Linked DNA regions of Homo sapiens: regions 2, 3, 4, 5, 6 and 7 are each linked to region 1. The links are contacts of gene promoters, found by promoter capture Hi-C in blood cells and fetal thymus (Javierre and others, 2016). All regions are on one chromosome and are shown on one strand. Each heading gives the region's core, a stretch centred on a gene start or on the middle of the fragment in contact. The rest is flanking DNA. Distances are from core to core; before and after follow the strand shown. Region 1 holds the start of HDAC4 (histone deacetylase 4). Region 2 overlaps HDAC4 (histone deacetylase 4). Region 3 has its middle 120 kb from the start of LINC02991. Region 4 has its middle 150 kb from the start of LINC02991. Region 5 has its middle 130 kb from the start of MIR4786. Region 6 has its middle 110 kb from the start of LINC02991. Region 7 overlaps HDAC4 (histone deacetylase 4).

What was found. Contacts are between HindIII fragments. The CHiCAGO score rates a contact against its expected background, and 5 or more counts as called.
Region 2: a fragment that was not itself captured here is called in contact with the fragment with the promoter of HDAC4 in region 1 in 1 of 17 cell types (non-activated CD4 T cells); the score reaches 6.1 in non-activated CD4 T cells.
Region 3: a contact is called between a fragment that was not itself captured here and the fragment with the promoter of HDAC4 in region 1, in 1 of 17 cell types (M0 macrophages). The highest score is 6.0, in M0 macrophages.
Region 4: a fragment that was not itself captured here is called in contact with the fragment with the promoter of HDAC4 in region 1 in 3 of 17 cell types (M0 macrophages, M2 macrophages and neutrophils); the score reaches 6.0 in M0 macrophages.
Region 5: a fragment that was not itself captured here is called in contact with the fragment with the promoter of HDAC4 in region 1 in 2 of 17 cell types (M0 macrophages and M1 macrophages); the score reaches 5.8 in M0 macrophages.
Region 6: a fragment that was not itself captured here is called in contact with the fragment with the promoter of HDAC4 in region 1 in 2 of 17 cell types (M1 macrophages and M0 macrophages); the score reaches 6.8 in M1 macrophages.
Region 7: a fragment that was not itself captured here is called in contact with the fragment with the promoter of HDAC4 in region 1 in 3 of 17 cell types (naive CD4 T cells, naive CD8 T cells and total CD8 T cells); the score reaches 6.7 in naive CD4 T cells.

Annotation. Positions count from the first base shown.
Region 1 is chr2:239,398,834-239,402,561 of GRCh38, forward strand. HDAC4 (histone deacetylase 4) reads right to left here and starts at 2,187. Exons shown (of 27, transcript NM_001378414.1): 1 at 2,145-2,187. It overlaps HDAC4-AS1 (HDAC4 antisense RNA 1), which reads left to right and starts at 2,603. Exons shown (of 2, transcript NR_135575.1): 1 at 2,603-2,703; 2 at 3,242-3,524. RefSeq lists silencers at 1,836-2,005, 2,016-2,455, 2,476-2,595, 2,866-3,135 and an enhancer at 3,266-3,395. The HindIII fragment of the contact is 12,493 bases long and covers 1-3,728 here.
Region 2 is chr2:239,089,461-239,093,658 of GRCh38, forward strand. HDAC4 (histone deacetylase 4) reads right to left here. Exons shown (of 27, transcript NM_001378414.1): 18 at 549-656. Among named protein-coding and RNA genes, the nearest start is that of MIR4441, 5.6 kb to the left of the region's middle. The HindIII fragment of the contact is 916 bases long and covers 2,210-3,125 here.
Region 3 is chr2:239,699,867-239,703,794 of GRCh38, forward strand. No RefSeq gene overlaps it. Among named protein-coding and RNA genes, the nearest start is that of LINC02991, 120 kb to the left of the region's middle. The HindIII fragment of the contact is 2,384 bases long and covers 346-2,729 here.
Region 4 is chr2:239,726,203-239,730,384 of GRCh38, forward strand. No RefSeq gene overlaps it. Among named protein-coding and RNA genes, the nearest start is that of LINC02991, 150 kb to the left of the region's middle. The HindIII fragment of the contact is 4,915 bases long and covers 385-4,182 here.
Region 5 is chr2:239,815,902-239,819,811 of GRCh38, forward strand. No RefSeq gene overlaps it. Among named protein-coding and RNA genes, the nearest start is that of MIR4786, 130 kb to the right of the region's middle. RefSeq lists enhancers at 2,104-2,690, 3,408-3,908. The HindIII fragment of the contact is 465 bases long and covers 1,312-1,776 here.
Region 6 is chr2:239,681,688-239,685,684 of GRCh38, forward strand. No RefSeq gene overlaps it. Among named protein-coding and RNA genes, the nearest start is that of LINC02991, 110 kb to the left of the region's middle. The HindIII fragment of the contact is 1,009 bases long and covers 1,853-2,861 here.
Region 7 is chr2:239,073,106-239,077,100 of GRCh38, forward strand. The region is part of intron 22 of HDAC4 (histone deacetylase 4); the gene reads right to left. Among named protein-coding and RNA genes, the nearest start is that of MIR4440, 6.2 kb to the left of the region's middle. The HindIII fragment of the contact is 6,470 bases long and covers 1-3,995 here.

The DNA.
Region 1 (3,728 bases), core at 937-3,436:
CTCCCCCGGGGGCATGCCTGCTGCCAGCTCCCCTTGCAGGAGAAAGAACCCTAAAGAGGGCAGCGTTACATCTGCCTGCTGAGTACAGCCGGCTTCTTTTCTAATTGATTACTGCTCTCTTTAGGATGGGATTTGATCTCTAAAATAAAAGCCCAGAACACAGAAAGCTATAGAAGTCTTACAATGTGTTGGGGTGTGTGTTTTTAAGGCATGAAAATACTTCCCTCCCACACAAATGTGAGTTCTTCTGGGGAAAGATGCCACAGATCCCAGAGAGTAGAATATCTGGGAAAGCCCGATCAGTCTTAAAAATAGGTAATTGAACACAGATTTTAGAATTCACAAGAGCTACCTGAAAAAAAATTAAATTTCACATATTTTTGATATCCAAAACTCCATTCTGATGAAACTTCTAACTCGGTGGCATTTTGCATTTCCAATTATAATAGAGTAATTGTGTTGCCATAGTTACTGCAAAATTCTGCAATAACTTTTGTTGCTTTGTAACTGCTGTAGTGTATATTTGTGTACAAGCAGCTGAGTTTTCTTAATTCGATCTCCCTCCCTTCCACCCTCCCTCTCCCCAGCCACCACCACCACCTTTCCTGGCTAGGTCCTGAAACCACCACACCAGCCTTCTTTGGACAGTCCCGAAAATAATGCACAGAATTATCAGAAGCAATTAAAACTCCAGGCAACCACGATCATATTACAAAAGAAAAAGTGAAACCAGGTCAAGGTGCAAACCTGCCAGTATCCCCCCAGTCCTGCTGGGCTGGCGCTGGGCCAGGACTGTTTACAGGCTTACTCCCAGGCCTTAACTGCTTCGGTGATTTGTGGGAATAAACAGAAAAGCCTGAACAGAGAAAAACGGGGCGGCAAAGTGACTGCACAGGCCCTTTCCTCCCTCACGGAGAGCAAGCAGAACTGCTCTCAGCAAGCAATTAGGTAGGTCTCTACAGTCATGCAATTAGGATTTAGTGAAGAAAGTCATTAGTTTTAAAATAACTTAAGTTTAATTTCTGCAACGCTTTATTTGAAAACTGTGTCACAGCAGGTCAATTTACAACATGCAATAAAGAAAACACTCATATCAGCTGCCTCAAGTTATTACAAATTTTTGATGTGCATTAAATGAGTACACTGGGTTCCACCCCCGGCCTTTCCAACTGATACGCACGGTCTCCTCCTATAACAGTGTCAAATAATTCAACGCTCAATGTAAATACGAGATAATTTGCTTATGATTCCGTGGTGTGTTTTCGCAACGCCGGCAAACGCGGATCCCACCCCCGAGCGGGACCGGGCCCCGTCTCGGCCTGCTGGCGCCCTGCGGGCTGAGCCGAGCGGGTCCCGGGCAGCCCCCCGCCCTCCCGCGACCCCCCGGGCGCTCGCAGCGGCGACGACAAGCGCGGGGCCGCGGACCCCCGGCAGGGACGTTTTTCTGCAAACTCACAGCATTTGACAAAGTTACATAAACGGCGCCCGGCCGGCCCCGGCGCCCGCCCGCCCCCGCCCTCACTCCCGGCGGCCCGGAGCCCACCTGCTCGGGGGGCGCGGGCCCCGCACCGGGAGACGGCGCCGCTGCCTGCCGTGCCCACCCCCGCGCCCCCGCCCCGGCGGGCGAAGCCGCCTCGCGGCGCGGGTGGAAAGGTCCAGAAGGGGCCGGGCGGCCCTGGGGACCGGCGGGTCCCACGGCGCGCGGCCAGCGCTGGCCCCCGCCTCCCACGGCCGCGCGCGGGGCGGGTGTGGACCGGCGGCGTCCACCTGCCGCGGGCTCCAAGGCCTGCAGGCTGCGCGGGGCGCGGGGCGGGCGGCGGACAATGGCCCGCGGGCGCCGGGCCGGGGCTGCGCTTACCGCGGCGGGCGGCGGCGGCCGGCTCTAGCCCTGCTCCGGCGCTCCGCGCCGCATCTCCTCAGCCTGCGCCGCCACCCGCCGGCGCGCGGGCTCGGGCTCGGGCGGCGACAGCCGGGACGCGGCCACGGCGCCGCCGGGGGCCCAGGCTGGGAGGCTGTTCGGGCGGCGGCGGCGGCGGCGCGGGCGGGTGCGCGGGCTCGGGCTCGGGCTCGGGCGGCGGCGGGGACGGTGCTCCGCGGCGGCGGCCCCACAACCTCCCCTCCTCATTCACAAAAAATTGACCCACGTTGAACCATGATGCTTCTCCCCACTCCAGCGTCGAGCCAGGCGGCGATAGGCCACCCCGCACGCCCGTCAGCCGGCCCGGCCCCGCCCAGCCAGCCGGCGGCTCGCCAACCATTGGCTGCGGCAGCCTTGCGTCACCTCCCCTTGCGGGCCCCGCCCTCCCGCCTGGTTTCTAATGAAGAGCTCGTCAATTACGGCTCGGCCCCGCCTCCCGCCCGCCCGCCCCGGGCGCCTGGCCGGCCTTCCATTGGCCCGCTGAAACCTGCGCACAGCCCGTCTGCTCCCACCCCTCGCCCAGCGGCTGCTCAACCGCGGGGCCGGATGCCCTATGAGCGGCAGAGAGGCTCCACCCCTGCCCGCCTCCCCGCACGCGTCCTGGACCTCATTGGCTGCTGGAGCTGCCAATTCTAGAGGGTGGGGCGTACCAAAAGACGCTCCAGGCGCCAGCCGCTGGGTGCTTCGCGGTTGAGGAGGCGCAGGGACCGGGGGCCAGTAGTGGCCGTAAACACGGGCCCCGGCCGTGTCCGGTCGCACTCGGTAGCCCGCATGGCTGCCTAGCGGTCAGCACCGCATGTCTGCGAGCCTAATTCGCGCTTAGAGGGCACACAATGGGGTGCAGGCTAACGCGGGGAGCCGGCCAGGCCTCGCCGCGGCGTCCATCTTGGATACTGGCAGTGGGTCACGTGGTGCTGCGTGCGCACGGAGGCGCAGGGCGGCCCGGTCACTGAGTGCGCAGGCGCCGTGGGCCTCGCCCTGCCCCGCGGCGGGAACGCGGCCGTGAGGGTGTGGGGTGTAGGTCCGCCAGGCCTGCAACGGCTGCCGAGGGTCGTGGGATGCGCTCGCCGCGTCCCTGCTCAGGCGGAGGGAGCCCGGCCCGCCGCCAGGGTCTCGAGTCCGGGTCCAGGCAGGCGTGGAGGTGGCGGGAACGGCGCACCGCCCGGGTGGGCGTTGTTTTAAGGCCGCAGGGCTTGGGAGGCTTGTGTTGAGTTACAGGTCGGCCCGTAGATCCCCGGAAGCGCCTTTGGTTGCCAGCAGGTGTCGGCGAGGGTCTTCAGTGGCCACCCTCCTGGTGGTGATGTTTCCGTTTCTTTCCAACAGGAGTATGACAACTTTTCAACTTGAGTGCACACACTGTCCCCGGAATCCCGCGTTCCAGGGAGGAAGCGCCTTTGACAGCGCGCGCCGGTTCGTGGGGCCCGACGGCGTGGGCCTGTGGTTGCGGACCTGGCGGAGATGCGCGTTCGCTTCGATTGTAGGCCATTCCTTTTAGGAGCTGAGAAAGGATCCGTTTTTACAGCATTCTCGACCTGTGATTCTTGGTGGGGGAAACTAGTTATGTGGATAAAAATACAGTTAGCAAAATAAAAATGCCAATTTTACATTTCCTTAAATATCTCATTAATAATTAGAAAACTTTGGTCATTGCAAGAAATGCTTAGGCTAAACTTAGAAGGAAAGGAATGGTGAATTAGAGAACTTTAAAACAAGATACAGCTGAAGAAAAGGAGAGCAATTACGGGGTTTTGGAGACTTGGCTGCTGATGGAAACGGTGCACTATCTAATTTTCATGTAGAATGAAACAGG
Region 2 (4,198 bases), core at 1,418-3,917, 310 kb before region 1:
GGGATTATAGGCATGCGCCACCATGCCCAGCTAATTTTTGTATTTCAGTAGAGAAGGAGTTTCGCCAAGTTAGCCAAGCTGCTCTTGAACTCCTGACCTCAGGTGATCCCCCTGCCTTGGCCTCCCAAAGTGCTGGGATTACAGGTGTGAGCCACTGTGCCCGGTCGCTATTTTTAAATTAATAAACATTTTGAAAATTTCTCAGTTGTAATCTCTAATAGAGTCAATATTGTGGATATAACTCATGTAAACAGAAGCTCTTTGGAGCTTTTTTTTTTTTTTTAAGAGTATAAATTTTTAAGAGTATAAAGGGTTCTTAAGACCCAAATCATTGAGAATCTCTGTACTATGCACATACCCTATCACAAATGTGGGCAATGTCTCTTTGATTCAATAGCGAGGCTGTGCTGACAGAGTGGGGTCCACGCCTCCCCATCACAGCCGCCTCCCAGCCTGATGAGAGGGAGACGGAGTGGGCGGCCCCTCCCCACACTGGGAATCTATGGCAGGCCTCCTGGAGGGCCACCACTGTCCAGGCCCCGACTGACCTTCAGCTCCCCTGTGGCCACCTTGAAGACCAGCTCTACCACGCAGCCCACAGCCAGGCGGGCTGCCCCCGCCGAGTGCACCTCGTTCCATATGGTGTCACTGTCCACCTGTGGAAACAACACCCCACAGTGAGGTCACCCTCCCAGGCCACCGTCATCACCAGCCCTGGCTGGGCAGAGCAGCTCAGGTTCCGTGGGCTCTGCTTCTGAAACCCCAGGGCCTACCAGAGCCAGGGCAGCTGCAGCCCACGTTCAGCCTTCAATCTTTTTAAGACATGCCAAAAAGTTTAAACAGGAAAATACAAGAGAATTTACCAGAAGAAAGATGCATGTGTCCTGACCTGTTCTGAGGCATCCTCCTTTCCCTCAATTGCTTCAGTATACTTCCATCTAAAAGTAATGATGTCAAGGTGATCTATTTCCTTTTTTTTTTTTTTTTTTTTAACTGGAACTGTAGTTAAGAGAGTTATTCAGCTTGAGTATCTCTGATCTGAGAATCTGAAATCCGAAATACTACAAAAGCATTTTGTAGGCTGAGGCGGGAAGATCACTTGAGCCCAGGAGGTCGAGGCCGCAGTGAGCCATGAATGCACCTCTGCACTCCAGTCTGGGTAACACAGTGAGGCTCTGTCTCCAAAAAGGAAAAAAAAAAAACTGGAAACTTTTTGAGCGCTTACGTGACGCTCAAAGGAAATGCACTCTGGAGCATTCTGGATTTCAGATTTTTGGATTAGGGATGCTGAACTGGTAAGTACAATGCAAATATTCCAAAATCTGAAAAACACCAAACTCTGAAATACTTCTGGCCCCAAGCATTTCGGATAAGGGATAGTCGACCTGTCAAATAATTAGCAGCAAAATGAAATGTAAGGGGAATCACGACCAGTCTCTTCCAATAGTGACTTTCTCCTGTGCCGAGTTTAACTGGAAGCTCCACATGTTGACCAGCGTAGCTAAGCGGGACTGGCCGTGTGGGCGGGTGAGGAGAGCTGCCCTGCTCTGCCCTAGTGACGGTACACGGCTCTGCCTGGACACCAGCAAGTCAGCCCGCTGGCCTTTTCCACTTCAGACAGAAAACGTGTTTCACACAAACACGTCAACAATCCCCGATTGTGTGTTGGCTCATTTATTTATTTAGGCACACCAGAAATTTCTTACAGCCCTGGCTCAATTCAGGAGGAAAGTCGACAGACAGAGACCTGGACAGCCAGTTCTGCACAGAGCAGTCTCCTATGGGAGTCTGGCCAGGGGAGGGAGGTGTTAAGATGAAATACACAGCCCTTGGGCTGGCCCCAGGGAACCTGAGCATCTGTCCCCAAGTGTGTCCCTTGCCTGCAAGCTGCTGTGGGGTAACACACCGGGGACTTGGGGGTGCCCAGCCCGGTGGAGGTCTTAGAAGCCGTGTCATAGGTTGCTCAGCTTCCACACGGTGCTGACCAGGGCGATTGCAGGTCCATTGCAGGACGCCTCCTTCTCAAACTGAGCCCCTCTGAGCGCCGAGTGCTTTGGGGCTCCTAAGCAGGAGCCAGGCGTGTCCACCCTGCCTCTCCCTTCCCCAGACCAGGCCCTCGAGGGCTCCTGTCCACCACCAGGCAGACTTGCCACTTGATAGACACCGCTCATTATGTGGGGAGGGAGGATTTCTTTCCAGGCGGTCTTGAAGCTTCATCATCAAAGCAAGGTGAGTTAAAATGCATTTTCAAGGGGCTGAAGACATTTCCTGAAGTGTATTCGGTGATGGTTTTCTTTTCAAAAAATTAGCCAGATGTGGGCCGGGCGCAGTGGCTCATGCCTGTAATCCCAGCACTTTGGGAGGCTGAGGTGGGCGGATCACAAGGTCAGGAGATCGAGACCATCCTGGCTAACACGGTGAAACCCCGTCTCTACTAAAAATACAAAAAAAAAAAAAAAAATTAGCCAGGTGCCGTGGTGGGCGCCTGTAGTCCCAGCTACACGGGAGGCTAGGGCAGGAGAATGGCGTGAACCCGGGAGGCGGAGCTTGCAGTGAGCCGAGATCGCGCCACTGCACTCCAGCCTGGGCGACAGAGCCAGACTCCGTCTCAAAAACAAACAAACAAAAATTAGCCAGATGTGGTGGCCTGGGCCTGTAGTCCCCACAACTCAGGACGCTGAGGCGGGAAGATCACTTGAGCCCAGGAGGTCGAGGCTGCAGTTAGCCATGAATGCACCGCTGCACTCCAGTCTGGGTAACAGACTGAAGCTCTGTCTCCAAAGAGGAAAAAAAAAAAAAAAAAAATCCAAGGTGACATCGCAGGAGTGAGAGCTGGGCAGGGCAAGATTCTGCCACCTGCTCTGTGTCAGCCAGCAGAGGCGGGGTCCCAGACAGGCCAGGCCCCGAGGCTGCCCCTGTGGGGACAGCACCCAGAGATGGTTTCTCTCCAACATACAATGAACTAGGCTTTGGGATTAGGCCAACACTGCAGGGAGCGGAGGGTGTACTACACCCGTGTTCTGAAGGGTCTTCTGGGGATTCTGCACACCTGGGGTGCCAAGGAGCTGCTCGGTCTACCAGGTGCCTGTGTCTGTGCCCCCTCCCATGGGACCCTGGGGTTCAGAAGCTTCTGGAGTCTTGCACAGAGTGAAGGACAAAGCCCCAGCCAAACTGCAGGACCCCAGTCCCCAGAGAACTCAAGAGACCCTCCTTCGCCTGCTTCAGGACCACGGCTCCAGCTCCCAGGGACCAGCCTGGAGCTCCAGGCCTCTTGCAGGGAGCCTGGCTCAGGCGTGCAGCGCCACCACTGAGCAATAGCCTGGCTCAGGGCAGGCGGCCGCAACTGCTAATGCAGGAAGGAGCAAATGGCTCACTCTGTGTTTCGTTTCTTTTTTTTTTTGTTTTCTTTTCCTTTCTTTCTCTCTCTCTCGCTTCTCTCCTCTCCTTTTCTCTCTCTTTCGCAATAAAGACAGGAAAAAGGCGGGGGGAAACATGGAGAAAGCTTCCCACGGATAATCCCATGGAGTCTAAAAGGGACATGCCGAGGGCTGGCAGGGCTGGGAGGCCTTTGGGAAGCTCAGAGGAGCCGCGGGGAGCCGGGCGTACGAGAGCAGGCCAGGACTCCGCTGGGCGAGGCCGAGCAGGGACACCAGCTCCTCACCCAGTTGAAACTTGCGGTCACTGGAGAGGAGCAACGCAGGAGCTGATCTGGTTTGAAAAAGAGGTCAAAGCACTTTACAGCTCCCATTTCCCAGCGCCGAGGAGTGGTGAGTTTTCCGTGTTCCAAGCCCCACTGTTCTGCCTCCGGGAGAGTTTGCAGCTGCTTTCGGGGAAGGTGGCTGGCTCTGCTCACCTGCTCTGCCCTCCCTGACAAGAGCACCTGCTGTGTGCCCACACTTCGGCTCCCGAGGTCTACTTTGCTCCTCCTGACACCCCAGGAGGCTGGCCCCTCCTGGCTCTGGAGGAGACATGAGGCTCAGGAGAGCTGCATCTGTGCCAGCGACAGCAGGTGCATCCCACACCAGGGCAGGGGTCTGCACCGGCCTCCTGTCTGTCTTCTTCCTTTTGGAAAACAATGGGAAGAAAACACATCCTGCCGGTGGCTGTACCTCAGGAAGCCCCACGGCCTGCACTGTTCCCTGCCCATGCCAACAGGCTACCCTCTCTGCCCGCGTCCACGTGGGGAGCTTTTCCATCA
Region 3 (3,928 bases), core at 288-2,787, 300 kb after region 1:
TATGAGGTTTCTGGTTGCTCCACAGCCTCACCGATGCGCGTCTTTTTTTTTTCTTTTTTAGCAGCTGTTCTCACAGGTAGGAGGTTGGTTTTGATTTGCGTTTCCCTGATGATTAGTGACATTGAGCCTCTTCATACCTCTTGGCCATTTGTGTATCTTCTTCAGAGAAATGTCTGTTCAAGCTCTGTGCCTATTTTTTAATTGAGTTGTTGGTGTTTTTGATATTGAGTTGTAGGAGTTTCACACATATTTTGGAAATTCACCTTTTATCAGATCTATGGTTTGGAAATATTTCCTCCCATTCTGTAGGTTGCCTTTTCATCTGTTGCTTGTTAGCTGTGCAGAAGCTTTTACATTTGACGTTCCATTTGTCTACTTTTGCTTTTGTTGCCTGTGCTTTTGGTATATTCATGAAATCATTTCCAAGACTAATGCCAGAAAGCCTTTCCTATATGTTTTTTTCTAGAAGATTTATAGTTTCTGGTCCAAAAGCCCAGAAATAAATCCACAGTATATGGTTGACTGATCTACAAGAGTGCCAAAAATACATATAGGGAAAGAATATTCTCTTGGGAAAACTGGATATGCACATGCAAAATAATAAAATTGGACCCTTATGCTATACACAAAAATTGGTAGTTTCTTGAAGATTTGTTACAATGTAGAGTCTGAATCCTGTTAATGAACGCTTTCATCTCTGTTACATTAAAATGCATAGCCCTATCATTAACTTTGAATGGATCTTTTACTTTGCATGATTTTATAACATCCTATCTTGGTCATTTGGAAAATAATGACTCACTGAGTTATACAGTGTTTTCAAATGTAGACACGTTTCATTATTCAGTATCCAAAAAAATCATATTTGCTAATATCACCACCCATCTCACCAGGGAAGTCTTTAAGTAATGGGAAGCTATGAAGACGTTGGTGGTGAATACATGCTTTCCAAAATTTTAATTTACACTCCAGTTCACATTTTAGCATTGGCAACAAATACTGTCAATGGTTTTCTTTGAAAAGGCTGGTTCACTTCATTTGCTTTCAAGAAATCTGCCAAAGACTGAACTCTGAATAGTTTGTAAGTCATTCTTTCAAGTAAAAACATTATTCCATGAAAAAAGTGGGTAGTGGAGCTCTTAGTTCAGTCACATGGCGCTTTTTCTCAAGAGAACCATTGTTCTTCAGCTTGCAGACGGGCTTTGTGTGTACTTTCTATTTAGTTAGAATATTAAAATGGCATGTGCCTCAAGCATTGAGCTTTAATAACATAAATAATTTTTCTCCTTCACCCAGAACATTCTTAAGTAACACGGAGGTTATGTTCTTTGTCCCTCCCCGTGAGTGCCTGGCAGTGACGCATGCAGTGACTGCTGTGTGGTGTGGCTCCGGCTTTGGTTCCAGGCCCAGCACTGAGGCTGTTTGGTACCATTAATGCGAACGTCAATATAGTGAAGAAAACAGTGGCCTCCTAGCATTATGAAAAGAGTTTCGACCTCAGAGACTTCTGAGAAAGTTTCAGGGACCCCCAGGGGCCTGACCACAGTTTGAAAAATATTGATTTAGCCAAAACATCATAGAATCAGTCTCATGTCTTTATTTCCTTTTTCCTTTTTATCATCTAATTTTTTTAACACAATACAATTTAAAGTAAGTTTACTGACGAATATTTTGCATCAAATGATAGAAGTTAAACATTGGTGATTTTTCACATTAACTGCAGTTTTATGATTTATGTATTTAACTGAACTAAGTTTCCAAAGCATCTGAAATTAACTATAATTTACGCAACTTTTTGGACATCTAAAAATAAAAAATGAATATATATTTAACATCCCTCATCTCAAAATCTAAAATCTGAAATGCTCCAAAATTTGAAACTTTTTTTTTTTTTTTTTGAGATGGAGTCTCGCTCTGTTGCCCAGGCTGGAGTGCAGCGGTGCAATTTTGGCTCATTGCAACCTCTGCCTCCTGGGTTCACGCCATTCTCCTGCCTCAGCCTCCTGAGTAACTGGGACTACAGGCGCCTGCCACCACGCCCGGCTAATTTTTGGTATTTTTAGTAGAGTCAGGTTTTCACTGTGTTAGCCAGGATGGTCTCGATCTCCTGACCTCGTGATCCGCCCACCTCAGCCTCCCAAAGTGCTGGGATTACAGGCGTGAGCCACCGCGCCCAGCCAATTTGAAACTTTTTGAGCACTGACATGACACCACAATTAGAAAATTCTACGCACAAGCACTGAACACGAACTTTGTTTCATACACGAAATTATTAAACATATTGGACAAAATTACCTTCCAACTATCTGTATAAGGTGTCTATAAAGCATAAATAAATTTTGTGTTTAGACTTCAGTCTCATCTCCAAGCTATCTCATTATGTAAAAGAAAAATTTCAAATTCTTAAAAAACCAAAACCCGAAACATTTCTCATCCCAAGCATTTTTGATAAGGGAGGTTCCACCTTTCTTTCATGTGCATGCATGAGCCCAACAAGCAGCCTGGGAAATAAAATGTGGAATCCATGTCTGCAGCCACCCATGTACCGCTCCTGGTCCTATTCCACTTCACACCCCCTGCCAAGAGAGGATCACCATCCTGACTTGGGTGTTTATCCTCACCCTGAGTTTCTAACCACTTTCATTATGAATGCATGTATTCCTCAACAAAATGTAATATTGCTAGGAATAGTTTTATAAAATTCTTCCTGTGCACTTAATGTTTCTCTAAGCTTCTAACATATGCCCAGGAGCAAATTGTTCCTCACCAGGTAGAGGCATCTTCAAATTTACTAGACACTGGCAATTTGTTATACAAAGTAATTACGTCAATCTATATTCCCACCAGCAGTATATAAAAGTTTTGTTTTCTCTACATCCTCTGCAGCACTTAAGTGATGAGACTTAAATTTCTGTTGCTTTTTGTGGGCAGTTTTGGAGTTTTAGTGTAGTTTAATATGGATTTATCTGACCTTTAGTGAGATTGATCATATTTTCAAGTTTATTTACCATTGGAAATTTTCCCTCCATAAATTGCCCTTCTGAATCCTTGAAAATTTTTTCTGTTGTTTATTATTTTGTACTTTTTGTAGGAATTCTTGACATATGTTAGATTTTAACCCTTCAGCCATTTTGCGTGACACAGACATCTTCCATGTGGTGGTGTTTTAGTAAATTTGTTGTGATGTCCTTTCGTGTACAATCTGAACTATAGATACAATCACATTTATCATTTTTGTCCTTTGTGTTGAACCTCTGTTGTGTTAGTACTTCCTTAATAAATCTTTCCCTACTCTGTGGTCACAAAATATTTATTTTTTTGAATAACAGTTTTAAAAATGTACTTTCCACAGTTATGTTTAATCCAGCCACATTTTATCTTTGGGGATTATGCAAGCAGAGATGTAATTTTATTTTTCTTTTCCACATGGATAGCAAACTTCTCAGCATCATTTATTCAATTATTTCCCCACTGACCTGCAATGCTATCCCTATCTTATATCAGGCCTCACATATTTGGAGAACTCTTCCTGAAAAGAATGTGGATTCTGTTGCTGGTGGGTGGGGTGCTTGCTAAGTTCTGTGGGTCAAGTTGTTTGATACTGCTCTCCAACTTCTCTGTATCCTCAATGACTTTTTGTCTACTTCTTCTACCCTTAGGCGAGAGGAACACTGATCTCTCCAATAGTATTAGTAGATTTATTTGATGTTTTAGTTCTACAAGCTTTTGTTTCCTACATTTAAGTTTGTTATATCCTGTTGATGAATTAACCATTTTATCATTAGAAAATGTTTCTTTGTATTCCTGGTAATAGTCCTTGTCCCGAAGTCAACTTTGATATAAATGTTCCCACTTTAGTTTTCTTATGATTAGAGTTTACATAGTATATCTCTTTTAGGTCTGTTTACCATTGATCTATCTGTGTATT
Region 4 (4,182 bases), core at 1,592-4,091, 330 kb after region 1:
TGTTCCGGAGCCTGAGCAAAGAGGAACAGTTGTGTTTAAAGAAAGACTCGGCCTGTCGGAGGGGCGGTGCTCAGCTTGGGAATGAGGAATGTGAAGAGCCCGCCTGCGGCTAGTGTGGGGAGGGTGCTCTTGGAGACGGGCCCTCCAGCACCTCTTCCCCAGGGAACACGGAGGCACTTGCTCATCTCTTGGCAGGCTCAGGGCCCACAGCTGAGATCAGGGCTGTGCAGACCCGGACACAAGCCCGTGAGGACAACACAGCCCCACTGCGACCCCCATCAGCTGGGCGGACATCAGAAGACAGTAATGCAGCTCCCTGCGATGTGGCCTGCCCGTGAGGTAAGGGAGGTCTCAGGGACACCTGGCTCCACCACAGCGATGGGAAGCTTCTCCATGGAAGTGACTCCCATCTGAAGTCCCACCCATGGTCTGCTGTAATTCTGCGCCCACATCAGCACCATGGCCTTCCAAGCCTGTACGTCAGTCTCCTGAGTTTGGCTGATGAGGCTGACCTGAAAGACAGGGCCTGGCTCTCAATCTGTGGGAAGAGGTCCAGCCTCTGAACCTGCAGGATTGAGCCCTTGGGTGTCGAGGCCTTGCTATGGTCAAGCATGTGATGAACATGCCCAGAGTAGCAGGGGTGGCAGGCCCCAGGGTACAGCTGCTGGTGTTCAGGCATAGCGGGTGGCCAAGGCCTGCCTTGCCCTGTGGGGATCCCACGGCCTCTGATGGTCAGCACTCCCTGTGCAGCAAGCAGCTGGCCCACACCAGCCCTCCTCTGTCAGCCCCTTGGCTGGCCGGCCTGGCCTCCCCATCCTGCAGTGAGAAGGTGGAGGCCGCGTGGCCCCAGGTGTGCGCCAAGGCTGAGATTCCCAGTCCTCTCTGCCTCCCCGTGCATCCAGGGCTGGAGCCATGATGCAGGCTGAACCCCGAGGGAAGTGCCCACCCCGTCTGGCTCAGTGCCCTCTGCAGTTCGTGAGGGCTCAGGACATTGTCTGACCATGGTGCTTGTTTTACCAGGCACAGGTCTGAGATAGACAGCAGAGGAGCACACACGGCCGGAGGGCATAAGCCAGCAAGGAAGTTTTCTTGCTTCATTTTACCCGGGCCTAACGAGCCGTCTGCCACTCACGAACAAAAGCCCAGGGTTCCCAGACAGGCTCGCACCTGCTGGGAGGGCCAGGCCCTGTGCAGGGCAGAGTGCTTCTGTGCCGAGCCCTGAGGGGCCCACTGTGCTTCTGGAGGGGAGGTTATGGGGAGCCAGCACCCGACAGGCCATCCTCATCCTCTGGCTGCCTGAGCCCCTGGCCAGGGCACCCACTTCTCACAGAGAGCAACCTCCACCCGGGTGCAGCATCAGGTGGGTGTCGGGTGAGTGAGGAGAGAGTGCAGCCGGGCCAGAGCGGCAGAGTCCTGTCTGCCATGTGGGTCACCAGGTGACAGGGTCCTGCTAGCACCTGCGTGTATGTGGTCCAGCCGTTTATCTCGGGTGAGCTCACCTCCACCCACACCCTCACCCCTGGGCTCCTTGCACCTGCCCTTTCTTGTTGTTCAGTGGCTGCCTCAGTGATGGGCCGCTGGTGCTTCCCGGGCACCTCGCAGATGTCCATTCATCTGACCCCTAGGACAACCCACACTCTCATTACCCAGTTCTACAAATAGGCAGCTGGGGCTCAGAGCAGCCGAGGCCCTCCCCACCTCAGGCTGCTCACCTGTGGAACAGGCTCACAGCACTGGCCTCAGAGGGCCACTCAGAGCAATGGCAAGCAGGAGCACTCCACAGCCTTGCGGGCAGCACTGCAGCTCCACGTCTGCCTGAGCATCCTGGCGTCTGGGATTAAAAGGGCTGAAGAGCCTGCCTGTTTGAGACTCCTCCCCGAGATGCCCCCACCCTGTGATTTTCAAGGGCAATGAGTGGAGGGGCACCTTGGCTTTGCAGGACGCCCAGCTGGGCACAAACGCAAAGGAGCCAGGTGTCCAGTGGGCCTCCCGTCTTCCTGGCTGCTTCGCAGAAGGGAGCCAACAGGCAGTGACTGCTTTAGCATCCAACTCTGCCCTGGGCCTTTGAGTTCAGCACCAGCAAGTCCAGCTCTCCTCCTCCTCGCGGCGTAGCTCTGGCGGCGCTCCATCAATGCTGGTGGAAAGAGTCCCAGGAGGATGACTGGGGCTGAGGTCGGCCATCACGGGCCTGCTCCCTGTGCACAGGCAGGGACAGTTGTCCGAGAGGCGCTGGGCTGTCTCTGCCGAGCCCCGGCCCCAGCACGCGCTCTCCCGGCTGGAACTGTTACTACGCAGGAGGGGAACATGCGTGTGTGTGGAGGGGGACCTGTGAGCGGAGGATGTAGAGAGACAGCTGAGAACTGTGAGACAGCGCCAGTCCCCAAGGCCCCAGTGGCTGTGTGGAGGTCAGAGGTGCTGCCGTGTGGTCCCGTCTCATGGAGACAGTGGCCGTGCTCCTGACCCCAGGCCAGTGCCTGCAGCCCCTTCCTTCCTTGCCTGCCTGATCACACAAGCATTAGCAAGATGATTCTGCTCCTGTCTTGAAAAGTGTTCTTTCAGCACGGACCTCCGTCTGTTACGTTCAGAAACGACATGACTCTCATCACCCATGAAACGACGGGGCTCTCATCACCCATGAAACGACGTGGCTCTCATCACCCATGAAACGATGGGACTCTCATCACCCATGAAACGCGATCATTACTGGGCAGTTTTCTCCCCTCTCCAGCACAGACCCAGCCACGGGCCAGGAGGTTGATCAGGCTCAGAGGTTTGATCTAATCTCACAGGGGCAGTCTGGGGCTGGCGTTCAGGTGCCATCGGGCATGGGGCTGAGGTGTGAAGCAGCTTGTGAATTCACTGGCTGAAACCAGTTCTGCCCAGACCTTCTCACCAGATCAAGACCTTCCTGCGATTTTCATTTTGTCACACTCAGCATCAGTTTTTCAAACTCTTGGGTCCTTAATGTTCCTAATGCCCTGCCTGACAACTGCCTGACACCTGCCCATGGAACGTTCCCTTATGTTGAGAAAAAGGTCGGAGAACCGCCAACGCGGCCGGGAGACCAGGCCAGGTGGGTCGGGCCCCTGGAGCTCTGGGTGGGCTCAGCCTCCTGCAGGACCTGGGGCCTGCTGTGGGTGGGGGAAGCTCCAGCCAGCTCCGAGGGTCCCCTGGGGGCTGCGGGGTCTAACCTGAGGGCGGGGCTGTCTGAATCCCAGGGGAAGCCTGTCGGGATCCCAGGGCACCTTCGGTCCTTCGTACGTGGGGAAACCTGGCCTCTCACAAGCGCTTCCCCTGCTGCTAGGACCTGAGGAGCACCGGGTGGGGCAGAGGGAGGCGGGGTGGGGCCACCTCCTTTCCAGTCCTACCTTTGAGCTGTGTGACTTTGAACAGCAGCTCAGCCCTTTGGGACAGTCCTGCTCGTGGGGTGGGGTTGAAGGAGATCAGGCCAGTGGGTATTTGGAGACACACCCTGTCCCAGGGCCTTCTGGCAGAGAGGTTGGTGAGGCCGTGGGCAGGGAGGTGCTACCTGAGGAGGAGGACGGGTCCAACTCCTAGCCCCAAAGCCTCAGGCAGGCACTGCCACAGGTGAGCATAGGCCCTGCCAGGCTGGTCAGCTCTGAGCCATGTGCCAGAGGCCAGGGCAGCCCTCGGGGTGGCAAGGGAAAGGGGTTCTCAGCTGGGGTGCCCTGGCTCAGGGGTTCCACCCTGACCCGCTGACACTCCGCTTCCCGGGGTCCTTGGGGATGAGAACTTCCCTGCCTGGGATCATTGCTGCTGGCGTTGGAAGGGACCGTGTCATTAAAGCTCTTTCTTGATCCCTGGGTGAGGTAGAAAGAAATCTGGGGGCCTGGGGCGAGGCTGGATTTACAGGGTGGTGTGCCGGGCTCACTCTGGAGCTTCCTCCAGTGGTGCAGGAAGCCGAGGTGCAGGAGGCAGGCTTGGAGGGCTGCTGGTGTGGATGGGACCCCAAGCTGATGGAGAAGGTGGGTGGTTAGCCCTGACTGCGGCTCTCCAAACAGACTGAGACCAGCCCCAGCCCCTTCAGCCCTCTACCCTGGACATCACATGGGCTTCCTGCTTCTCCATTTCCCCAGCATCAAATGGAGGCCGTGAGTTTACCCAGTGGGCTTCAGAGGCGTCCACGGGAAGAAAGCTGTGACCACCACTGGAGGAAGCAGC
Region 5 (3,910 bases), core at 294-2,793, 420 kb after region 1:
TCGAGGGGGGACTGGGACATGTGCATGTTTGCATTCTCGAGGGGGGACTGGGACATGCATGTTTACATTCTCGAGGGGGAACTGGGATGCGTGCATGTTTACATTCTCGAGAGGGAACTGGGACGTGTGCATGTTTACATTCTCGAGGGGGGACTGGGACATGCATGTTTACATTCTCGAGAGGGAACTGGGACGTGTGCATGTTTACATTCTCGAGGGAGGAACTGGGATGCGTGCATGTTTGCATTCTCGAGGGGGAACTGGGACACGTGCATGTTTACATTCTCGAGGGGGGACTGGGATGCATTTATGTTTGCATTCTTGAGAGAGAACTGGGACGCATGCATGTTTACATTCTCGAGGGAGGAACTGGGACATGTGCATGTTTGCATTTTTGAGGGAGGAACTGGGACGCATGCATGTTTGCATTCTCGAGGGAGGAACTGGGACGCGTGCATGTTTGCATTCTCGAGGGAGGAACTGGGACGCGTGCATGTTTGCATTCTCGAGGGAGGAACTGGGACGCGTGCATGTTTGCATTCTCGAGGGAGGAACTGGGACGCGTGCATGTTTGCATTCTCGAGGGAGGAACTGGGACGCGTGCATGTTTGCATTCTCGAGGGAGGAACTGGGACGCGTGCATGTTTGCATTCTCGAGGGAGGACTGGGATGCATTTATGTTTGCATTCTTGAGAGAGAACTGGGACGTGTGCATGTTTACATTCTTGTGGGGGGACTGAGACATGTGCATGTTTGCATTCTCGAGGCACCTAGTGCATGAGACTTGTCTTGCCTGAGGCCTGGGAGGACTACCGAGACCACCTCTGAGGAAGTGCTTCATGATGAAATGGAGATGCACACATGTCATGCACCATTAATATTAGCAGCAAAACTCGGGCTACCCCCACAGAGAGAGATTGCATATCCTAGCAGCAATGTGACAGATGATAAGCAGACAGAGATGCTGCACCCAACATCCCTTAGAGGTGATAAGGCCTCCATTTGCCACATTAAACAACTTGTCACATTGAACTGAAGACACCAAGAGGGCCGGCTTCAGGGACATGAGAACGGGCACGATCAGAACCTTCCGCAGGAGTCCAGGCAACTTTCCCAGGGCCTGCCTCTGTGCCCACTGATGCCAGGACCACACACGGGCTCTCTGCACTCCCATGGCTTCTCCCCGGTTTCTGAAGGTCCCTTGGTGACCAGCACCACTGACCAACGAGGATATCTAATCTACTAAAGCCGTGTGTTCAGGAGCCCTGCCGTCCCACTAATGTGGATATGATGCGATTGGTGACTGGCTTAAGCTTTTATGCTAGGTAAAGAGGTGGGTGAGGCCAGACATTGAGAAGGGTCAGCCCTGTCCTGGGGAGTGGAGAGGCCCAAGGGGGCCTTGGATCTCCAGAGCTGTCTCACAGCAAGCCCCAGATCTGGCTGGTGAGAAGTGGAGTCAGTGCACTCAGGGGTGTCTGCCATCCACATCGCCAGCATGGGGTCCAGGCCATGTGGGACTCGTCATCCCAGGGACATCTAAGCCCCCGTGGCTGGTCACCACCAGCTGGTGCCCGAGGTGGCTGAGCTGATGGACTCAGGATCAGAGAGCTTCATAGGCTTGTCCTGGTCTTTTTCTTCCCCTTTGTGGTATTTTTCTCATCACTAGGTAGGTACTATGCTGCATTTCCTGTTCTAAACCCTTGAGTGGGGTGTTTCCTCATCCTGACCACTGTACTAGATGCCAACCAGCCCAGGTCCCTCTTAAGGGAAACTCCAAGCTTCTGCCCACGGTTCTGTCCCTGCCCTCCTGGGATCCCAGCCCTGGCTATTAGCCTGGACCTCATCTGATCATTCACCGGCATGCTGACCTGAGCCCCATCTGATCACTGTCTGGCATGCTGACCTGGGCCCCATCTGATCACTGTCCGGCATGCTGACCTGAGCCCCATCTGATCACTGTCCGGCATGCTGACCTGGGCCCCATCTGATCACTGTCCGGCATGCTGACCTGGGCCCCATCTGATCACTGTCCGGCATGCTGACCTGAGCCCCATCTGATCACTGTCTGGCATGCTGACCTGAGCCCCATCTGATCACTGTCCGGCATGCTGACCTGGGCCCCATCTGATCACTGTCCGGCATGCTGACCTGAGCCCCATCTGATCACTGTCCGGCATGCTGACCTGAGCCCCATCTGATCACTGTCCGGCATGCTGACCTGAGCCCCATCTGATCACTGTCTGGCATGCTGATCTGGGCCCCATCTGATGACTGTCTGGCATGCTGACCTGAGCCCCATCTGATCATTGGCCAGCACGCTAACCTGGGCCCCATCTGATCATTGACTGGCACGCTGACCTGGACCTCATCTATCATTCACCAGCACACTGACCTGAACCCTAAATCCCTCGGGCCCTTGACCTCTCATCACATCCCTCCTGCCAGGACCCAGCCCAGAGAGCATCTGGCCATCTGATTTCTCTTTTACTCCTGGTTGGCTAAATGAAGCTAATGAAAAAGTCACATAAATGGCACCAAAGCAAAAGCATGATGTCCAGCCTTGCTGGCCCCTCCTAGCCCGAGGCCCCAGCCCTGTCCGCTCAGGGGTGCTCTGGCCTGCTGCAGCGAACATGAAAACATGGAACCTGCCTAAGGGGTGAAAGCTCCTTCTCTTCCCTTCCCGTCCTGTCCCGCCTCAGACCAAGCACCGGCCTCTGCCTCCTGTATCCAGGGCCTTTCTCTACCCACCCGGCATCTGCTGCCCACTGTTGGGTCTTGGCCTCCCTCCTACAGCTTCCCCCAGCCCTCAGGCACCTTCACAACCATCCAGGGCAGCTGGGCTCCTCGCAGGATGCCCACACTGCCCATCCAGGGCAGGCAAGCTGGGCCCCCCATGGGAAGAGCAGGGAGCTCCTGGCTTTGCCCTGGATCCTGGGAAGTGTTGCTACGATCATGGCCCACACAAAGCTCCATTGTTCCCCCAAACAGTAGCAATCAGAGTTCAGGCCAAGTTGGACGTGTAACAGAGGGCACCCATGCTGCAGAGATCTCCATAGATCCTTTCTCCGTTCCCCACCAAGCCACACTCTCGCTGTCCCTCCAACCCCACCAGTTCCTCCTCCCCATCCTTGATTCCCTTCAGGACTAACCCTGGGGGTTCTGCCCGGCTGGGCTCCTCCCCTGTGGCAGGAACCCCAGGCTCAGTCTAGGGGAGCTGCCCCTTCTCAGAGGTGGAGGCTTTTCTGGCACGTCACTCAGCGGATGCATCTGTGGGAAGGGCCAGTCCTTTGCCTCCGCCACCTTGAGACGTGGCCCTGGCTCCTCTGGAGATGACGATTCAATCAGAAAAAGTACTTCAGCTCCAGTAAGGTGCTGGGATCGGCTCAGGGGGCCCCATGGGTCCTCAAATCCCAGCGAGGGCATGCTCTGCAAGCTGATGACACACCCTGCACTGACCACAGTATCCGGCACATGGTATAAGTCATGAACCCTGGCCAAGGAGGCATCAAACAGCACAGAACACGGTGAGCAGTCAGTGCTTCCTTCCAGCACCTCCAGGAAGGACAGCCCAGGCCTCCAGAAACGTGTGTGCGGCCTTGAGATGGGAGAGCACTGAGGGGACCTCGGGGGAGGCCCGGCAGAGGACACAGCTGCCTGCAGGAAGGCCTTAAAGCTCAGAAGGTCACCCGAGAGGGGCTGTGACTTTCCCATAAGGGAACAAGTGTCCAGCGGGGTGGGTGATGCTGTCACCTCCCAGTCACAGCTCTCCAGGACATTCCAGAATTGACAACCAGTGCACCCTACAGTCTGTATCCAGCAGACATCAGCCCACCCCTGCCCAGGGCCATCGGCTGCCATAAATGGGGCCTCTGTCTTGAATATGTGGGTTCCTGGGTCACCCAGCATTGTG
Region 6 (3,997 bases), core at 1,107-3,606, 280 kb after region 1:
TGAGTCTCTAATGTATAAACAGATGGCTCTACTTCAGTCTTCTATATCTCTTTACTTTCCACTTCTAAAAATCCTTTTAATATCTTCTTTATTTCTTTTGGAGAATTCTTAAGACAGATCTTTGTGCTTACTAATCTCTGGCTAAATTCATTCTGATATTTAGCCCATATATATGTGTGTGTGTCACACATACCATATACATACACACACACACACACACACACACACACACGGGCTAAATGTATGTGTGTGGGTGTGTGTGTATGCATGTGTGTGTATAGATTTTTTAAATCATTTTTATATATAATTTCTTATTCTTTTTTTTAAATCTTCCCAGTACCCCCTGCCTTATTTCTTAGAGGAAATTAAACAGGCTTATTTTAAACTCTTGTTCCATCTGTTCTATTTATTCTGCTTCATCTGGTATGAATTTCTCTTCTTGTTGTCTTTCTCTATATAGCAGTTGTATTCTTAAGAAGTCTCATTACTTTTACTGAGCTAATACACCCTTCTGAGATATTATCTATCTGTGCTGGAAGTGGATATTTGAGGGGAGGGGATGAAACCCATGTAGACAATTTCTCTGCTTCTGAGGATTTTTTGAGATGGAGGGAGGATGCATCCTCTGGTGAAGAGCATCTGGTATTACACATTACATCTCTCCCTTGGCACCGGTCTCACTTAAGCAACTCTCTCCTGAGCATGATTACCTAATCCTGGAGCTGTGAAGGGGGTACAGGGATAAAGGAATACTCTGTGGCTGGAAAGCCTGGATGAATGTGTTTTGAATTATCCTTCATCCAATTTGTGCGTAGTAGAATCTTTAATTTATCCTCCCAACCAGCTACCACTGGGATGGCTGCTCCCTCCTCACACAGGGTAAATGGGGCTTCCTTGAGCTTCTTAAATCAGTAGATTGAAGTCTGTCATCAGTTTTGGAAAATCTCAGCCATAGTCTCCTCAAATATTAACTCTGGTGTATTCTCCTTGTCTTCTTCTTCTGTGACTCCAGATAGAAGTGTGTTGGTCCACTTGCCCACCGTTTACATGTCTGCTCTTGCTAGTCTTTTCTTTCTCTCTGAGCTTTGGTCTTTCTGTTCGCTTGGCTGATCTACTGTGCCCCATCTGCTATGAAGTTTATTTAATGAGTTTTCAATTTCAGATATTCTATTTTTTACTCAGAATGTCTATTTGATTCTTTTTACAGATTCCAAAACTTTTTTTTTTTTTGGGAAATTCTCCATCTTTTCAGCCGCTTAGTGCATCTCTCCCCTCTTGGCTTTGATGCCTTTATAATTGATAATTTTAAGTCCTTGTGTGCTAATTTCTGTATCTGGATTATTTACAGATCTGCTTCTATTGACAGCTTTTTATCAATCATTAGTCATGTTTCCCTAGTTCACATTCATCTAAGTTCTGATTACAGGAAAGTCGTCGTGTATACAAAGATGATGGAAACTAAAGTTGTTGCTACTGTTTCTCTGACAATTTCTGCCTCTCCCTACCCACCTTTTTTTGGAAGATGGGGATTAGGTGCTAATCACCGCAACACAATTCAGGATTGAGCTGATTTGAGTCTGGGGTACAACATGAGAAGCAGTGCACCTGTTTTCCAAGTCTGAAGACTGAAGCCAGACGGTGGGCCTGGCAAGTGGGGCAGTGGGAGATCTCATTCCCTCTCTAGTGCCTCCACCCTTCTTGTACCACTGCAGAAGCCAGCAATAAACCTACAGGAGAAAACAGCTCAGTGTTTTGAGCTCCTCTAGATTCTGATCTCTTAGCCCAGCTCAAATTATTTTAAAAATAGCCACTGACTTATCTTTCCCTCAAAAGAGCCCCTCTGCCTAGGAAAAGCTTAAACCTCAGCCTTTTCCCAGATTCAGAAAATCTCTCCCACCCCCGCCCCCAGGGACAAAATGGTCAGTGATTGCAGCTCAGCTGGGAAGGGCTCTTCCTGCTCTGGAATTTTAATTTGTTTGGTTCTTCTACTTTCACTGCTAATCAATGGTTTTACAACTATAATCTTTATAATTTATCAATTTATTTTTCTAGTTGTGTTCGGAGCAGTGAACTGTTGATATTTACTCTAAACTCCCTAGAAACTGAAACCCTTACAGTGGTTAGGGATAGTAGATGGACCAGTTTTTAACTTCTGCCCAGTGCTGGAAGAAGGATTAAAGACACACCAGGAAAATTCTCCCCACATCCTATCTCTGGAGTCTCTTTTTTTCTACTCTAGGCAATAATTCCTCCCTATACTACCCCATCCCAGAAGCCCAAGTACCCAGAGTTCTCAATGTTTTAAGGGAAGAGGTGGGTTTTTGTTTTTAATGGATCCACTAACTTCCTTCTGTTTTTGTGCATTGCTGAGATTGAGTTTCAGTGCCCAAATCAGTAGTACCCATGTTAATTCGCCATTTGAATTACATCGAAAACCCAACTCTGCCACATACTATCTGTATCACCTTGAGAAAACCACTTCAGGCCTCTCCTTTCCCCAGCTTCAGAGTTGTGTCCGACCTAGTTAATGCCCATTCAAATGGGAAGAAAGTGTAAAAATCACGGGAGCTCTGACTGTTAGGCAGTTATTCATTCTCGCCCTTCACAACCACACGCTGGCTGGCAGGCACTATCTGTATCTCTCTGAGTGTCTGATGCTGTGATCTACCTTTTTGCCAGTCGTTCTCTCTAGTTTGAAGCACAGTCCATGAGGAGTCTTCACTGTCCTCACCACTAGCTCTTGGCTGGCTGCTTTCCTTTCGACCGACCTTTCTTCCTTCTGGATCTTCTCAGGCAGGTCCACTCTCCACCTGTGACTGCCTGAACTGGAGCATAATGCTGGTGAGCAGAGCTCATATGGAAGCTTCCAGAATGACTGTTGTTTGACATCTCATTAACCTCCACTTAATCCTGCCTTCCCTGGAAGCTTGATGAGTCAATGCTGCTGGTGGAATTGCATCAAACCCAAGATGGGTGGGAATTGCATTCCACCCATCAGAAGGAAGATGCAGGGCGGCCTGGTCTTCAAATCCCATGAGCCATTTCTTGCCTAATGGGAATAGGCAGCTCTGAGCTGCAAAACAAAACTGTGCATGGCTCACTCAACTGCTACTTCTCTTCACTTTATTTCTGGCCAGGCATGATGGCACACACCTATAATCCCAGCACTTTGGGAGGCTGAGGCTGGAGGATCACTTGAGCCCAGGAGTTGTAGACTGTCTTGGACCACATGGCTAAATCCTGTCTCTACAAAAATAAAAATAAAAAAATTAGCTGGGCATGGTGCACGTGTGGTCCCAGCTACTCAGGAGGCTGAGGTAGGAGGCTCGCTTGAGCCAGGGAGGCAGAGGTTGCAGTGAGCCATGATCAAGCCACTGCACCCCAGCCTGGGTGACAGAGCAAGACCCTGTCTTGAAAGAAAAAAAGTGTTATTTCACTTTTTCATGGATTCCTTTCCCAGGAAAACCACACATTTCAGCCAATTCTATGAGAAAATGAGTCCCCAGGGCTCAAAAATGGGAAAAAGCTTGCAACCATGACCCTTTAGAAAGAAGACACTGAAATGGTGGAAAATAGCAGTGAAGGCAGTACCGAGGACACCTGGGGGTGGGAGCTGCTGAATTGAATTGATTTTGCCTTAGCTTTTCCTGAAGCCGAAAACTTAATAATCATGTTTATATAATCACTGAACGGAGATATATACATAGATATGTCACTGAAAATGTTCATAGATACATTTTCCCCTTGAATTCTGCATTCAGTTAAATTACCCGTCTGGACTGATCCATCAGGACAGACCCTTGTTAATGCATGGACACAGCACTGCTGAGAAGCCAGGGATGCCGGGGGCAGGGACAGCGCTTGAGGCTCACCTCCTCATGGGGAGAAGTGAAGCCGTGATGGCATCACACCCGACCTACACGCAGGCTGCATTCCCACTTCACCCCTGTGTGCCTCTGCAACTCTGTGGACGACTTTCCTCCTCCACTCCTTTGTA
Region 7 (3,995 bases), core at 990-3,489, 330 kb before region 1:
CCAAACATGCGTCAAATCCACACCTAGGCACCTTGCCCGCCAAGAAACTCACTTCTGGAACTTAGATGGGAGTCACAGGAGACCCTGGGTGGCTTCTGAGCAGTCTGCTTCTGTTCTTTTTTCTGAAGAGAGCCAGTCCACACAATTTCCCCTAGACCTGCCTCTGCGGCAGCTGTAGAAAGTGCTTTCCAAGGACACAGGAGCTGTGCCCCGAGGGCCATCGTTAGGGGCTGAGGAAACAAGGTGAATCTAGACAGGGGCAGCGAGCTTCCTGCCACGGGTCAGATAGGAGGCACCTGACCTCAGTCTGTGGGCCACACGGTCTCTGCCAGGACCACGTGATGCTGCCCTTGTGGTGCCCAAGACAGGACAGACAGTGCATCGGCGTGCGAGCGTCCCTGTGCTCTGATAACACTGTGCCAAGAGCACAGGCGGCAGGACTTGGCCCACCAGCTGGAGTTGCCCAAACCTCTGCTCTGGTCCTGTCCATACAACTTCTGTAACATTCTTCCATGCATGATTCTGGTCCCAGAGTGAGAGGTTTCTTCTCACCTACTGGGACCCCACCACAAAGCATGGCGATTTCGCAAACATGGTGTACAACACAGGAAACACCGCACTGGCCTCAGAGCGTGCGTGGAGTTGGTGTCGGCACTCCCGCCGCAGGGCTGGGAGGGGAGAAATCAGTCTAGTCAGTGGCAGGATGGAGAGAATGCCTTGGAATCCAGGAGTCCTTTGACTCTTGCTGGACCCAGGGCCCTGCCCTGGACACTGGAAGGCACTGGCCCCACAGTCCTTTCTGACCGACATTCCGAGGCTTCCTCCATGGCTCTGACCAACCTAATGGGCAGCAGGACTGAGGGGGGCCGCAGGACTGAGGGGGCCGCAGGACTGAGGGGGGCAGCAGGACTGAGGGGAGCAGCAGGACTGAGGGGGGCAGCAGGACTGAGTGGGGAAGCAGGACTGAGGGGGCCACAGGACTGAGGGGGGCCGCAGGACTGAGGGGGCCGCCCTCTGCTTTCAACTGTCCACATCATCCCAAGGAGACTCGCTTCTAATTATTTTAATAAAGTTCTTGTCATAAAACCTTTTTCTTTGGACAGAAAAACACATTTCCAGCCATGCTTTTGGTGTGGATTTTAAAGCCAAGACCTTTTTCAATGAGAACCACAGGCGTTTTGTGTGGACGCTGTGTCCTTGGCGAGGCACTCTGACTGCTGCTTTGCAGCGAGCGCACGTGGAGGCTTTACTTCCCCACTTTGAAGTGCTGCTGAGCTATTTTACTTCTAATCCCCCTCCAAAAAGAAGTCCTGTGAAAATCGCCGTTAAATGAAGTTCATACCAAGAGAGTCTCTGCTGTCTAGGCTTGGTGTGTGGTGTTGCCTCAAAGCCAGTCAAAACAAAATGGGAAAGATGAGCCCAGGCTCGTGGGCACTGGCACGTCGGCCACACGTGAGGCTGCGTGGGGCACAGTCGGATGCACGTGCCCACACACTCATTTTCATTTTACTGGGCTCAACACCCTCTAGGTTGTGATCCCAAACACCTGCTAGACATAAGAAGGTCAGAACGTGAGGTGCATGAGTGCACCTTCAGCACCCGTTTGTGGCGCGACTAAGAAACGTCCCTTCTCCTCCATGGGACATGACTTCTTTGCCTGTAAAAAGGAAGCTGAGCATGGCACTCCCTGTGTCTTCAGGACTGTGCTTACCCTCCACGACTTTCCTACAAGAGGAAGCTGAAGGAATGTCCCTGTTTAATAGATGCTGCAAAAAATGGGAAACTGGACTCACATTTTATTCCCAGAATTAAACTTTTAATAAAGAACTCAGTCTCGGCCGGGCACGGTGGCTCACACATGTAATCCCAGCACTTTGGGAGGCCGAGGCAGGCGGATCATGAGGTCAGGAGATCGAGACCATCCTGGCTAACACGGTGAAACCCGGTCTCTACTAAAAAATACAAAAAGTTAGCTGGGCGTGGTGGCGGGTGCCTGTAGTCCCAGCTACTCAGGAAGCTGAGGCAGGAGAATGGCATGAACCTGGGAGGAGGAGCTTGCAGTGAGCCGAGATCGCGCCACTGCACTCCAGCCTGGGCGACAGAATGAGACTCCGTCTCAAAAAAAAAAAAAAAAAAAAAAAAAAAAAGAACTCAGTCTCTAAAAAAATAAGATTGAGATGTTTGCCGTGGGCCTCTCAAGCCATCACTTTAAGGAGAGTATTTCCATGAGGTCACTTTTGGCCTTTCTTGGGGCAACCTGAGGGGAGAGAGGGGTGGGCTCGCAGTTTCCCAAGGCAGTAGGCCCACTGATCGTCCACTGATCGTCAGCTCAAGAGGCAGGAGAAATGGGTGGAAAGAGGGGATCTTTAGAGAAGGTGGACAAATGCCTGTAAGGTGCACCCCTGGGGCCGGCAAGCCCAGGGAAGCCATGACTGTGGTGCCCAGAGGGTGCCTGTGCCCGTGAGGCACGTACAGAGGGAAACGTGGTGCTAAGGGGAGAGAGCGGCTTCTCCTCGCGGTGGCCTCTGCATTTAGGGAGGTCCCGTGTGAAGCCGTGGGGTGCCACGCATCCCCTTCCCGTGGCCTCAATGTGGCTTCTCTGGCACCTTCGTTACCGACACAGCACTGCACCCTTCACTCGGTCATCAGCCAACCTGCACCTGCAGCCTGAAGACGACATCTCCCCTCAGCTTCCCAGGGAATAGAGCTGGGCTGGGACAGCAGACAGGTGCCAGCCACTCCCCTTGGTTTCCCGGGAAACAAAGCTGGGCCGGGATAGCAGGTGGGTGCTGGCCACTTTCCTCGGCTTCCCAGGGAGACAGAGCTGGGTTGGGACAGCAGGCGGGTGCCAGCCACTCCCCTCAGCTTCCTGGGAAACAGAGCTGGGCTGGGATAGCAGTAGCAGGCGCGTGCCAGCGAACTCTCCTTGGCTTCCTGGGAGACAAAGCTGGGCCAGGATAGCAGTAGCAGGCGGGTGCCAGCCACTCCCCTCAGCTTCCGGGGAAACAAAGCTGGGCCGGGATAGCAGTAGCAGGCGGGTGCCGGGCCACTCTCCTGGGCTTCCCAGGGGAACAGAGCTGGGTTGGGTTGGAACAGCAGGCGGGTGTTGGCCACGCCCCTCGGCTTCCCAGGGGGAACAGAGCTGGACCGGGACAGCAGGCAGGGTGCCGGCCACTCTGCTTCCTCGAAAGGCCATCGCTCGTGCAGCCTCCCAGCTGTGCTCTGCGCAAGGGGCTGTGTCACGGGGCACGTCTAGCTCTAAACCACCACATACCATCAAATTATGGCCTGTACATACCATCCTCAAAAGCCACAACTGCATCTAAATGCAATAATTCACTTAACAGCTGGGTTTCAACATCTGGAAAGAAATGACCTTCCAGTTCATTCCCCTAGTAGGACCCTAAACAAAACTCACCACACCTTCCGTCAACACAAGCCTCAGAGCAAACCGAGCTTATGGGGCCAAGAGGCTGCAGTCCTGTGGCCACCCACAGCCGGCAAGCCTCTGGGGACTCCGTGGGAACTGGGCTCAGGGCTGGCACGCCATGCTTGAGTTTCTGGCTGCCGTTCTGCCCCAATAAATGCCCTGGGGCATCGTCCACACAAACTGGCTCCTCACTGGCTCTCCCTACTAAGGGGCCTCCAGGTGGAGATGCTCCCAACCACCCACTTGGATGGACACTTTCTCACTTTTTCCTGAAAACAGACTGAAGCAAAAGCGTCCCCACTGAACCCTCATCCACCCCCACCTGAACCTTCTCCCGCTGGATCTCTGCCCAGCACCCTTCAGCCTCCTCTAAGCCAGCACCTCGAGACCTCACCAAGTGCCCTCTCCCCCAAAATCAGCCCCTACTCCCCTCAATCCCATCTCACTTCAACCTCTTTGAGATGGCCCCACCTCACCAGCCTGTGGCCCTGTCCCAATCTCTGCCGCTGTTTTCTGGGCTTGTCCACTGGCCCCCAGATCCTACCCTGGAATGCTCTTTGCCAGG